2 separate regions of the Homo sapiens genome follow, and region 2 is linked to region 1. Evidence: promoter capture Hi-C in 16 types of primary human blood cells and fetal thymus (Javierre and others, 2016). All regions are on one chromosome and are shown on one strand. Each heading gives the region's core, a stretch centred on a gene start or on the middle of the fragment in contact. The rest is flanking DNA. Distances are from core to core; before and after follow the strand shown.

Evidence for each region. The method cuts DNA at HindIII sites, captures the fragments that hold promoters and counts their contacts. A CHiCAGO score of 5 or more calls a contact.
Region 2: a fragment that was not itself captured here is called in contact with the fragment with the promoter of ADRB1 in region 1 in 2 of 17 cell types (monocytes and M1 macrophages); the score reaches 5.3 in monocytes.

The regions. Positions count from the first base shown.
Region 1 is chr10:114,039,313-114,045,540 of GRCh38, forward strand. It overlaps ADRB1 (adrenoceptor beta 1), which reads left to right and starts at 4,554. Exons shown (of 1, transcript NM_000684.3): 1 at 4,554-6,228. The coding sequence starts at 4,821. RefSeq lists an enhancer at 3,922-3,971 and silencers at 4,242-4,521, 4,592-4,651. The HindIII fragment of the contact is 8,909 bases long and covers 1-6,228 here.
Region 2 is chr10:113,927,099-113,932,830 of GRCh38, forward strand. No RefSeq gene overlaps it. Among named protein-coding and RNA genes, the nearest start is that of NHLRC2, 75 kb to the left of the region's middle. The HindIII fragment of the contact is 200 bases long and covers 4,335-4,534 here.

The DNA.
Region 1 (6,228 bases), core at 3,304-5,803:
TAATTTGATATACAACTTGAAACCACATTCAAGTCATCAGCAACTCTCCTGGGGCAGAAATGGCTGGATATATAGATTCGGTATCATAAATAATGGCTAAAGAAAAAGACTCTTCACCTGGGTCATTTATGAAGAATAGGTAGTACTTTTTTCTTTTCTTTTCTTTTCTTTTCTTTTCTTTTTTTTTTTTTTTTGAGTTAGGGTCTCACTCTGTCACCCAGGCTGGAGTGCAGTGGCACAACCACATTTCACTGCAGCCTCAACTCCTGGGCTCAAGTGATCCTCCTGACTCAGCCTCCCAAAGTGTTGGGATTACAGGCAGGAGCCACTGAGCCTGGCCAGGTAGTATTTTTTATGGACGTGGACTTGCATGTCTCCTTTGGAAAATCTCTTACCTATGTCTCGTTTTATTTACTACGAATAGGTATGATATACATTTATCTCATGAGCCTACCTTGCTTTTGTAAAGTATTTTGAAATGTTTATGTGAAAATGTTGAATAGGTGGTAAGAATATGGATTATTGCTGTAAATTATAAGCAAGAGTGAAGATTGTAACTACTAAAACACTCAATTATGTCTCAAGTGTATAAAAATGAGAATATTTTAATAAATTAAATATCATATATTTATGAATCAAAGCTAAATGTTCATTAATATCAAGTAAATATCAGTAAACATGGGAGATATAAAAATGTATGAGACAATTCTGGCTCTCAGTGAGCTTACAATCTATAAGAGAAGAAAAGGGGAAAATATAAAAATTAAATAACAACATAAGAAGTATCAAAAGGCAACCTATTGTAAATTGCCACCTGAAATGAAATTGGCAGAGTCACTACTATAGGTCAGAGGAAGGAGAGATCATTTTCAGAAGCAGTGGGCAGAGAAGATAAAGAGTCCAGCCACATCTCCAAGGCTGAATTCGCTGGGAAGCAGGAGGAGGTTTTGGTGGAGGGAACCCAGTGAGAAAGTATAGATGTACAAAAGGAAGGAGTATGGATCCCCAAAAGGAAAAAGAATACAGAAATGCAAGTTATGGTGATAAGGAGAGTTCTAATATGAAATAGGGCTGGAAAGGCCATTTAGAATTGGACCGGGGAGAACTGTGAATGTTAAATTGAAGAGGTAAGGTTGCTGAACAGAAAAGCATCTTGGTCAAAGCAGCATTTTGGAAATACTCCTTTGGTTATGATATGCCAGATTAAATGGAGCAGGGAGGACCAGAGACAGGGAGATCAAATAGAACCCATGGCAAGTCCCGGTGTGGGGTGAAGGTGGGGGGATGGGAAAGGAAGAAGTTGAGATAGGAACTCTGTGGAAGAAGTGCACGACCTCTCAAGTGTGCTGATCAGCCCTCATTGTTGGAGCTTTCTGTCATTTTCCAAAGCATTGTGAAATATATGGGTTTTTAGAACTGACTCTCTTTAACAGTTGCCAAGTGAAGAATGAAGAAATGAAGGAGTTTTATTTAACTTACAATATCCGATACCTGTAAAAGTTGATACGTTGAACCTTTTCTTCTTGATCTTGTATCCTTACCTAAGAATAAAAAGTGTTAGGCTAAAAAAAAAGTTAAAAAAAAAAAACACCAATCATAAAATGTAGGAATTAAAGGAGTTCTGAGAACATTTTATTTTTATTAGACAACCAACTCTAGTTGAACATGTACTATTCCAAACTCTTCTGTCAGTAAAATTGAAGGAAATCCCCCAGAATTCCTGAGATCCCTGTACTGGTACTCCTGCTAGAATAACCTTCTGGTTTCGAGGGTTTATAATTTAATGTATTATACAGAAATTCGGAGAAACTTGATGTATCTCTGAATGAGCAGAGAAAAAAAGTTTCAGGAAAGTTTTCCAACAATTCCAATGTCACGATGTGTTTATATATATAATGATGATACGGCAAAGTTACTGGCAATCTGGCTTCTGCCCTGAACCTCTACGACCAAGTTCTGGCCTTATCGCACACAGAAAAGCAATGCCTTCCACCCTTCGGGGGCATTTAAGGTTGACACACTCTATTCCGGTAACACCACTTGACAGAAAGATGGCAAGGAAAAGCCTCTTCCCCACATTCCCTATGCCTCACCCTGCAGCTCAGCACTCAGAACTCCTTTCCTGGGCAGCGTCAATTTCAACTTCTTCCAATCCCTTGGCTATTTTGAGACTGCCCCTTGTGGGTCCAGAAGGAAGCCAGGAGGCCGGGGACAGTGGCTCATGCCTCTAATCCCAGCACTTTGGGAGGCCAAGGTGGGTGGATCACCTGAGGTCAGGAGTTCGAGACCAGCCTGACCAACATGGTAAAACGCCATCTCCACTAAAAATACAAAATTAGCCGTGTGTGGCGGCACACGCCTGTAATCCCAGCTACTTGACAGGCTGAGGCAGGAGAATCACTTGAACCCGGGAGGCAGAGGTTGCAGTGGGCCAAGATCACGCCACTGAACTCCAGCCTGGGCAACAAAAGTGAAACTCTGTCTCAAAAAAATAAAAAGAAAGAAGCCAGGAGTCTCAGGCTTTCAGTGACTTGGATAACTTGGGGTGTAGTCTCCTTCCTCCCCTTTCTAACGCCTCTTGTTTCCTGGCCACTCCTCCTCAACCTCCCCAAGTTGGAAAATCAGCTGATAAATCATGGGCAGGGGGTGAATAAACAAATCACTCCCCAGTTTTAACATACTGATGCTGAGGTTTGGGCCTAAAGCAAATTCATATGTTTGCATTTATGTAAGAGAAAGTGGTTAAAACTGCTTGATTTTATATAAACTTGAAAAACATTACTTTTTGCTTTTGACCTGGACAGCTGTGGAAGTCGGTCTCTCCTTGCAAGGTAAGGATATGAGCTTGGTCATATTGATGACCATCAACGAACATGATGTTCGTTACGGGCGCTGTTCTTATTCCAATGCTAGAAGGACCTGTGAGCATTATATAACATTTTCATGCACCCTTACATAAACAATTAGAAGCTGTTTACTCCTCAAGGACTCAATTAGAGATTTTTTTAATTTTTTTATTTTTTTTTTTATTTCAGGCCTGAGCTGAGGACACTACAGGAGCCAAATTAGAGAAGGGGCTTGCAGTCCTGCCATATTGCATATTCATGGCTTTCTTGTCCCCTCACCCCCAGTATAATCCTTTTTGCCAGGTTAACAACTCACTAATTTCAAAGCAATTCATTTGCCAACTCAAAAAAAAAAAAAAAAAAAACCACAGATACAACTTTAAATGCTTTTGGATTTTAATCCTCTGGAGTATTTATATGTTTTCTTGTCTCATCCCTTCAAAACTAATCTCAGAGTTTTGAGAATCTGGGAACTTGGGCAAAGGAGAAAACAAGCACGCAGACCAAGGAATCTGAAATCGCAGTTCATTACGTCAGCATAAACTGACAGTACCTTTTTGTTTGTATTGACCCAGCTCAAATTATAAAATCACATGAGTAATAAAACACAAAATACAGGTGTTATCATTGAAAAGTCTAAAATGTAATTAAACGCGTTTTTTCCCCCTCGCGGTGGTATCGTTTACTCTGTATCTCAACGTTTCTGTCTCCCTAAGCCTCTCCTTTCATATCATGAGCATACATTTTTGCATCATGCTCACACGTTCATTAGCTAGGACTGAGGAGTGTGTACGATTCCAAAGGGCCCTCAGCGTTAGCTGTTAGATGCACAAACCTTCGCTTCCTTTCCACATCTACTGCACTCGAGGTTCAACAGAGGATCCTTGCAAGAACAGCGCCCAGAGAGCATTCTTGACAGATGCGCGCTTGGCTCCAGCAACCCGCTCTGCTGGGAAGTTTCTTCTAACCACTAACACCCACCTCCAATCCCCCAAGCTGTCACGACGCATGCTGGCTGGGTCCCGTCTTGACGGGGGAAGGGTTTTACACACACCCTGCTAGGCTGCCCCACATCACAACCAAGCTCGCAGGGCAAACTCCTCCAAGCCTGGCGGACAAGCTGTCCCAGGCGCTCTGGCGCTTCCTGAACACCAAGGTCCCCTCCCCGCTCAAGGGAGCTAGCGCTCTGTTCCGCAGAGAACCCCGGAACTGCAGGTCGAGGGGATGCGGGGGGAGCGGGGGCGCAGGAGGGAGCCGAGTGCTGGAGGCAAACGGGGCGCAGGAGCGGGTGCGGGAGGCAAACGGGGCGCAGGAGCGGGTGCGGGAGGCAAACGGGGCGCAGGAGTGGGTGCGGGAGCGAGTGGGGGCTGAGGGAGGGGACGGGGCCCCGGGGGGAGCCAGGCGCGGAAGGGGGCGCGGGGGAACAGGGACCAGGAACCAGCGGGCGCAGGAAGGGGTGCGTCCGCAGGAACCCGCGGGCGCACGGGAGGCACTAGCTACGCGATCAGCTCGGGACTCTCAGGAGCCGCTCAATTGCCAACGGGAGGGGGGTGCGGGGAGTTGGAGGTGGGGGTGCAGACCAGACGGGGGCGTGCCTTTGCCCGGATTGGCTGCAGGAGCCTGACGCGAGGCCCCGGGGGTTGGCTTGGGGAGTGGGAGCGGGGTGGGGTGGGTGCTGGGTGCCGGAGCTGCGGGCCCGGCGCGCTCAGAAACATGCTGAAGTCCCGGCGGCTCTTCCAGCAGCGGCAGCGGCTCCAGCAGCAGCGGCGGCGGCGGCGGCGGCGGCAGCGGCAGCGACAGCGCTCGGCTCCTGCGGGAAAGGCGCCCGGCGCCCATGCCTCCGGCCCCGCGCCGCGGCTGCCCTGACCCGGCCGCGACCTCCCTCTGCGCACCACGCCGCCCGGGCTTCTGGGGTGTTCCCCAACCACGGCCCAGCCCTGCCACACCCCCCGCCCCCGGCCTCCGCAGCTCGGCATGGGCGCGGGGGTGCTCGTCCTGGGCGCCTCCGAGCCCGGTAACCTGTCGTCGGCCGCACCGCTCCCCGACGGCGCGGCCACCGCGGCGCGGCTGCTGGTGCCCGCGTCGCCGCCCGCCTCGTTGCTGCCTCCCGCCAGCGAAAGCCCCGAGCCGCTGTCTCAGCAGTGGACAGCGGGCATGGGTCTGCTGATGGCGCTCATCGTGCTGCTCATCGTGGCGGGCAATGTGCTGGTGATCGTGGCCATCGCCAAGACGCCGCGGCTGCAGACGCTCACCAACCTCTTCATCATGTCCCTGGCCAGCGCCGACCTGGTCATGGGGCTGCTGGTGGTGCCGTTCGGGGCCACCATCGTGGTGTGGGGCCGCTGGGAGTACGGCTCCTTCTTCTGCGAGCTGTGGACCTCAGTGGACGTGCTGTGCGTGACGGCCAGCATCGAGACCCTGTGTGTCATTGCCCTGGACCGCTACCTCGCCATCACCTCGCCCTTCCGCTACCAGAGCCTGCTGACGCGCGCGCGGGCGCGGGGCCTCGTGTGCACCGTGTGGGCCATCTCGGCCCTGGTGTCCTTCCTGCCCATCCTCATGCACTGGTGGCGGGCGGAGAGCGACGAGGCGCGCCGCTGCTACAACGACCCCAAGTGCTGCGACTTCGTCACCAACCGGGCCTACGCCATCGCCTCGTCCGTAGTCTCCTTCTACGTGCCCCTGTGCATCATGGCCTTCGTGTACCTGCGGGTGTTCCGCGAGGCCCAGAAGCAGGTGAAGAAGATCGACAGCTGCGAGCGCCGTTTCCTCGGCGGCCCAGCGCGGCCGCCCTCGCCCTCGCCCTCGCCCGTCCCCGCGCCCGCGCCGCCGCCCGGACCCCCGCGCCCCGCCGCCGCCGCCGCCACCGCCCCGCTGGCCAACGGGCGTGCGGGTAAGCGGCGGCCCTCGCGCCTCGTGGCCCTGCGCGAGCAGAAGGCGCTCAAGACGCTGGGCATCATCATGGGCGTCTTCACGCTCTGCTGGCTGCCCTTCTTCCTGGCCAACGTGGTGAAGGCCTTCCACCGCGAGCTGGTGCCCGACCGCCTCTTCGTCTTCTTCAACTGGCTGGGCTACGCCAACTCGGCCTTCAACCCCATCATCTACTGCCGCAGCCCCGACTTCCGCAAGGCCTTCCAGGGACTGCTCTGCTGCGCGCGCAGGGCTGCCCGCCGGCGCCACGCGACCCACGGAGACCGGCCGCGCGCCTCGGGCTGTCTGGCCCGGCCCGGACCCCCGCCATCGCCCGGGGCCGCCTCGGACGACGACGACGACGATGTCGTCGGGGCCACGCCGCCCGCGCGCCTGCTGGAGCCCTGGGCCGGCTGCAACGGCGGGGCGGCGGCGGACAGCGACTCGAGCCTGGACGAGCCGTGCCGCCCCG
Region 2 (5,732 bases), core at 3,185-5,684, 110 kb before region 1:
CAAATCTTCTGGTGACTTCCCCACCTCCAGAACTGTAAACAATAAGCTTCGGTTGTTTATAAATTACCCAGTGTGAGATATTTCATTACAGCTGCCTGAACGGACTAAGACAGCAGCAGAACTGAGTTTAGAACCCAGGTGTAGAGAAAGCCCAGTCCAGGGCTCTTCCTTCGTGGTGAACACCAGTATAGTCTTATTTATTGTAACATAGGGGCCTCTGAGACTGCTCAGAAACTCACACTGCAATTTTCTCACCCTACACATCAGAAAAAATGGCATCCTTTCATCTACTGTTTACTTTGTCTGAAGATTGATAAAATGTTTCCATACCCGTAACAAAATGAGCTTGCTTCTCATGAGATTAAATCTGTTATTTACCCATAGTTTAAACCTGGGCACAGCAGGAGGTGCCCTTGCCCTCTGGTGTCCTCCTAGGAAGGGTGCTACAACGCATAGAGACTTTTCAGATTCAGGTGTTTGCCTGATGAATCAGGGATTTTCCCAGAAATCTCAGGGTAAGAGCTCTTGTTCTTTACATTACGTTCCCAGGCCTGTTGTAAGTGGCAATGTGCATTAGGTCATCTTATCTTCACAACATCACCAGGAAGTGAGGACTGTCATTATTCCCATTTACCATTGAGGAAACGGAACCCAGGAGAGGGTAAACGGCACACCCAAAGTCACCCAGCCAGTGCTGCCAAGCCGGGACTCAAACCCAGATCTGCCCAACACTAGAGCCACTGACACTGCTTCATCGTGGGCAACAAAACCCTTTTTATTCAAGTGTTATCAATTTAGGATCTGACATATTTTGGATAGAGATAAAGTATAAAAAGATCACAGGAGGCAGTGTTAAAATTACATATGAGAATAAATTCAAAACACTTCAAAGTCTGTAAAACAAATGACATGTTAATTACAAATGTCATATCTCCATTTGAGCAAATCCCGAAAAGACTCCCTCTTCTGAGCAATTTTCTATTGCTCGAGGTTGAAAGTAATGAAACTGCATTTCCTTTAAAATAGTCTAATTCTGTGGCTCAATTGTTATGAAGAACTATCTAAGTGTAAAATTATGGCTTTAGTTTTACATGATGAAGAAACTAGACTTTTAAAATGTCTAAGATCTCTCTTTTTTTTTTTTTTTTTGAGACAGAGTCTCACCCTGTTGCTCAGGCTGGAGTGCAATGGCGCAATCTTGGCTCACTGCAACCTCCACCTCCCGAGTTCAAGCGATTCTCTTGCCTCAGCTTCCCGAGTAACTGGGATTACAGGCCCGCGCCACCTCACCCGGCTAATTTTTTGTATCTTTAGTAGAGACGGGGTTTCACCATGTTGGCCAGGCTGGTCTCGAACGCCTGACCTCGTGATCTGCCCGCCTTGGCCCCATAAAGTGCTGAGATTACAGGCATGAGCCACCACACCTGGCCCCAAAGATCTCTTTTATTGCTTAAAATTGAAAACATGAATCTTTGGATAAAACTTATAGTCAAAGTTTTTATAATCTAGGAAAGCTATTTGATTCTTACCACTGCTGAAACTACACTTCCTAAATTCTGCTTAATTTGCTAAAAATTCTATTAAATTTAAGCTATAAAGAAATCCTCTTGATGTAAATATTTTTGAATACATAAAATGTTACTTTATTGTTCTGCCATTTCATTTTCACCAAATGTTATTCTTTAGGGATTTCATCCAAGTGAAGAGTGCATAGACTTACGTACAAAAAAAATTAGTCTAATTCTGACTGTATGCATTTAGATCAACCTTGACTTCTTCCCTAAAAGACTACTTTTGTTTATTAAAATGCAAAAAAAGTTACAGAGAATAACAAATTAAACAAGCAATACATCATTTCAGTCCTGGAAATGAGACAGCCACAGAACTAAACTCACAGTAGTGAGAGGAGGTCATAACAAAGCCACAGCCAGCTCTCATGAAAGTCTCTAACTGTCCCCACCTAAGAAATAAACATTGGGCTCCAAAAAGGCCAGATGTCTTCAATGTCTCAGCCCAGCATTTATTTCTGTTTGCCATCCAAATTGACTCCCTCTTTGATGTCCCTTTCTTTTGCATGTGCTGGTACAATATAACTTAATTTTGAGGCATCATCAACCTGGTTTTTAAAACCAACTCCAATAATACTGCCTTAGTCTACAATTAGGATTAGGAACTTAAAAGGGTTCTTCTTACATTTCATTTGAAAATTGATGTCTGCAGTGCTTGTTCATAATCCTCATTACAATTGCTGGGAAATTTAAAGGGTGGGATTGCATTCTCATTTGGAGGAAAGGGTAAGCTGGTTTTCATGCTCTTCCCAGGCAGCGATCTCATTTAGCCTTGGTGTTTGGCGAAAAAGAAAGGGGAAGAAGAAGTTAACTGGAGAACTAGAAGATAGAAATTTGCCATGTGGGCAGTTTAAGGTTCTGTGACTCTGTCGGCTGATATGCTTCTAATTCAGGGCAAAGAGGGGTGAGAGAAGAGGGCTGGCGAAAAAATGAAAAGTGCATTTTAAGCCAGGGAGAGATCTGAAATCTTAAGCTGAGCGGCCACAGGAGGCTTAATAATCACTGGAGTGCATGCATGGGAGATTCCACTTCAAAAGAAAGGGAATGATGCATTAATGCCCCACGGACATAGTAATGCCCTAGGGACTCCAGGACTGTCCCTGTCACAATCTGAGAGCCATAGAAAAACCATTCAGTGCCAGGCTTACTTAGAGCGTGTCCTCCTTAAAATTGCTCCTCCAAAGGCTATGTGATGTGGAGCTGTGTCTGTGAGGGCCCTTGAAGCAACCGGATGCTTAGGCCAGAGAGGAATCCATTTAGGATTCGGAGGTACAAGCAGCTGTCCACAGGAAATCCAAGAGCCTTGCCTGAGAAATGAAGAAAACCAGGACACCTTTCACTGATTCCGTCTGCAGAACTCAAAAAGACCTGAATTTTCCTCCTTTATGTTGAGATACAAATCCAAATAGCTTTAAAAGAAACTTTTTTCAAAAAGTTTAATGCTTAAGAATCCAGAAGTCCTCCAAAGTCATGAAGTGGAATGTAATGTAATAACTGGAATCATTTGAGCAGAACATTGCTTAAAGAAACCTGCATGTTTATTAAATGACCACCTTGGATATCTTTCCTTTCAGAAAAAGAAGTTCGAATCTGGATGGCTGAAAAATAATACTTCCAGTTCATTCATATTATCTGCTTCCTCACCAGGTTAAGATAATAGAAACCTCATCATATGGAAAGGTCAAGACTCATGACTACGTGTGCAGCTCAAAACTTCATTTTTCTCTTTTTCAGGAGTCCTCTGCATTCTCATTAATCAAAGCAAAGTTTGCAAATTGTAGCTATGCAAAACTTGCATAAAATCATTTAGTCCTTGATTTTTTCTCTTTGTTCCTTTTCAGTTAACTTTCAAAAAAATTTTTCCCAAACATCTCCCACTTCAGGAAAAAATTTGACAACCCCTTATAAGCCTGCATATTTTGTGACAGAGCTATGATTATACTCAAGCAGCCTTGTCAAGAGAAGCACACTCCAGCTTTTTTCTGAACCTTGATTTTAAAGAGTGCAATGAACTCATTGATGTTCTAATAAGAGCTTTCTGCACGTCAGAAAAGGAAGGGAAATGGGTGGGACTTATAGAAGGTGATGGTTATCATTAATAAATGAAAGCAAAATAAATAAACATAGCTAGCTAAGCCATGCTACTGAAAGTCAATCTGGCCCTAACTCTCCAGGAAACATAATGGTTCAGTCAGGCTAAGGGATGCCAGGGGAAGAGCAACCCTTCTGGAACCCAGAAGACACCAGGTTTTGTTCTGGAATCTCTGGAATGCAGCTGTCAGTGGACGCAACAGGAAAGTGGGTTTCCTCTGATTATAGAGAAGAACTTGACAACAATTAGACATGTCCGTAAACAGAAAAGTCAGAAAAAAATTATGTACTCCCCAGTGCAAGAAGCGTGCAAGGAGAGGCTGGATGATCACCTGGCAGAGAGTGTGTGGAAAGTGTTTCTCCTTTGGGTATGAGGTGAAACTGGATAACTAAAGGCTTAATGTACCTTCTAACTCTAAGAATCTGTGATTCCATAGCTTTGGATGATCAAGAAAAGCCACTCTGGGCCTTGGTTTCCTTATCTGAAAAACAAGAGCCTTGGCACAAAATAGGCCATCTTAGGTCCGTCGCAGCCCAAGATGGTATGAATGACCACCTGATAAACTTGTGATGTTGGAGGCCAGGCTCAGGCATCCCAACTCACTGCCTGGCTTAGAAAGGGTCATCAAACTTCTCTGGGTCTTGCTCTGAAGTCGTTTATATAATCCATGGGCAAGCTTGAAGAACGAGGGAACACAGCCCACCAAGTGCTGGAAGCACCAGAGGAAAGGCAAATACAGGCCACATGCCTCAGGTTAAAATATTTTCAAGGCCGAAGGTTTACTGAACCTTATTTCAGACAATATCAATCAAGAAAAGCATTGAGACCATGCCTCAGAGTTCCTTGTCATGGAATTTAAGGGAGTTTGCCATAAAGCTTATATTGATTACTTGATTTATAGAATAGGTTTCAAGTCTCAAAGACTTGTTTCTAAAAAGGAAACACCTCCAGCAGGGAGGAGGCACAGTTTCTGCTTGTTTTCCAGAAAACTGGTACACCATGCTTCATTCCAGTGACTCCTGGCATTTGTGCCCTATTAATGTTTGGTATAAGTTGGTGCCCAAAGTGTGTTTGGATGAACAAAATAAGTTTTATTGAAAGAAAATGTCTGTTTGTAACAAAGCTATTTTAAACTTGTATATGCACTTCAAGTATGTATATTATATAACATATTTTTAATTACCTTGACAATTTGAATTGAGGTATCAGTAAGGCAAAATCTGTGAGGAAATAAAGACATCTGTGATAACATAGGGACATGGACATAGGTCAGGGTTACAAGGCTAAGTGAAGCTCTGGATAACTTTAGGCCATTTCCTGGCAGGCTTCTTAATTTCAGGTTGAATTTGTCCATGATGAAGTGGGTATTTGCCTCTCAGGGAGCCATTTAGTTCCATACATAGAGAGAAAGGATTTATATGACTCCAAAGAGAAACGTTGACTTATTTTTTCTTTAAGCTGTTGGGGAAAGAGAGGGTAAGGGTGCCTTTACCTATAAAGCTAAAATGCAAAGACTTTAAAGACTCTTTCTGCCTATAATGGTTTGAGTCTCAGGTCCCCAGCCATTGAGTTCCAGTCTAGCAGAGCTCACGCAGGGTAAGAAAGAGTCTCTGGAGCAGGCACAGTGGCTCCTGCTTGTAATCCCAGCACTTTGAGAGGCCGAAAAAGGCGGGTGGGTCGCTTGAGGTCAGGAGTTTGAAACCAGCCTGGCCAACATGGTGAAACCCCATCTCTACTAAAAATACAAAAATTAGCTGGACATGGTGGCGCATGCCTGTAGTCCCATCTGTAATACTCAGGAGGCTGAGGCACGAGAATCGCTTGAACTGGGGAGGCGGAGGTTGCGGTGAGTCGAGATTGTGCCACTGTACTCCAGCCTGGGAGGCAGAGTGAAACTCTGTCTCAAAAATAAAAGAAAGAGTCTCATCCTCTCTCCCAGCCCCTCAGGATCCCCTCCAAGCTTCTTCCCACTCATCCCCAAAACTTGCTCTGAATTCCCCCGAGAATACCCCCTGAGCGTTTTGTTGGTGCCTATTTTATGACATTCATCATATTCCACCTCCTGTTCAGCT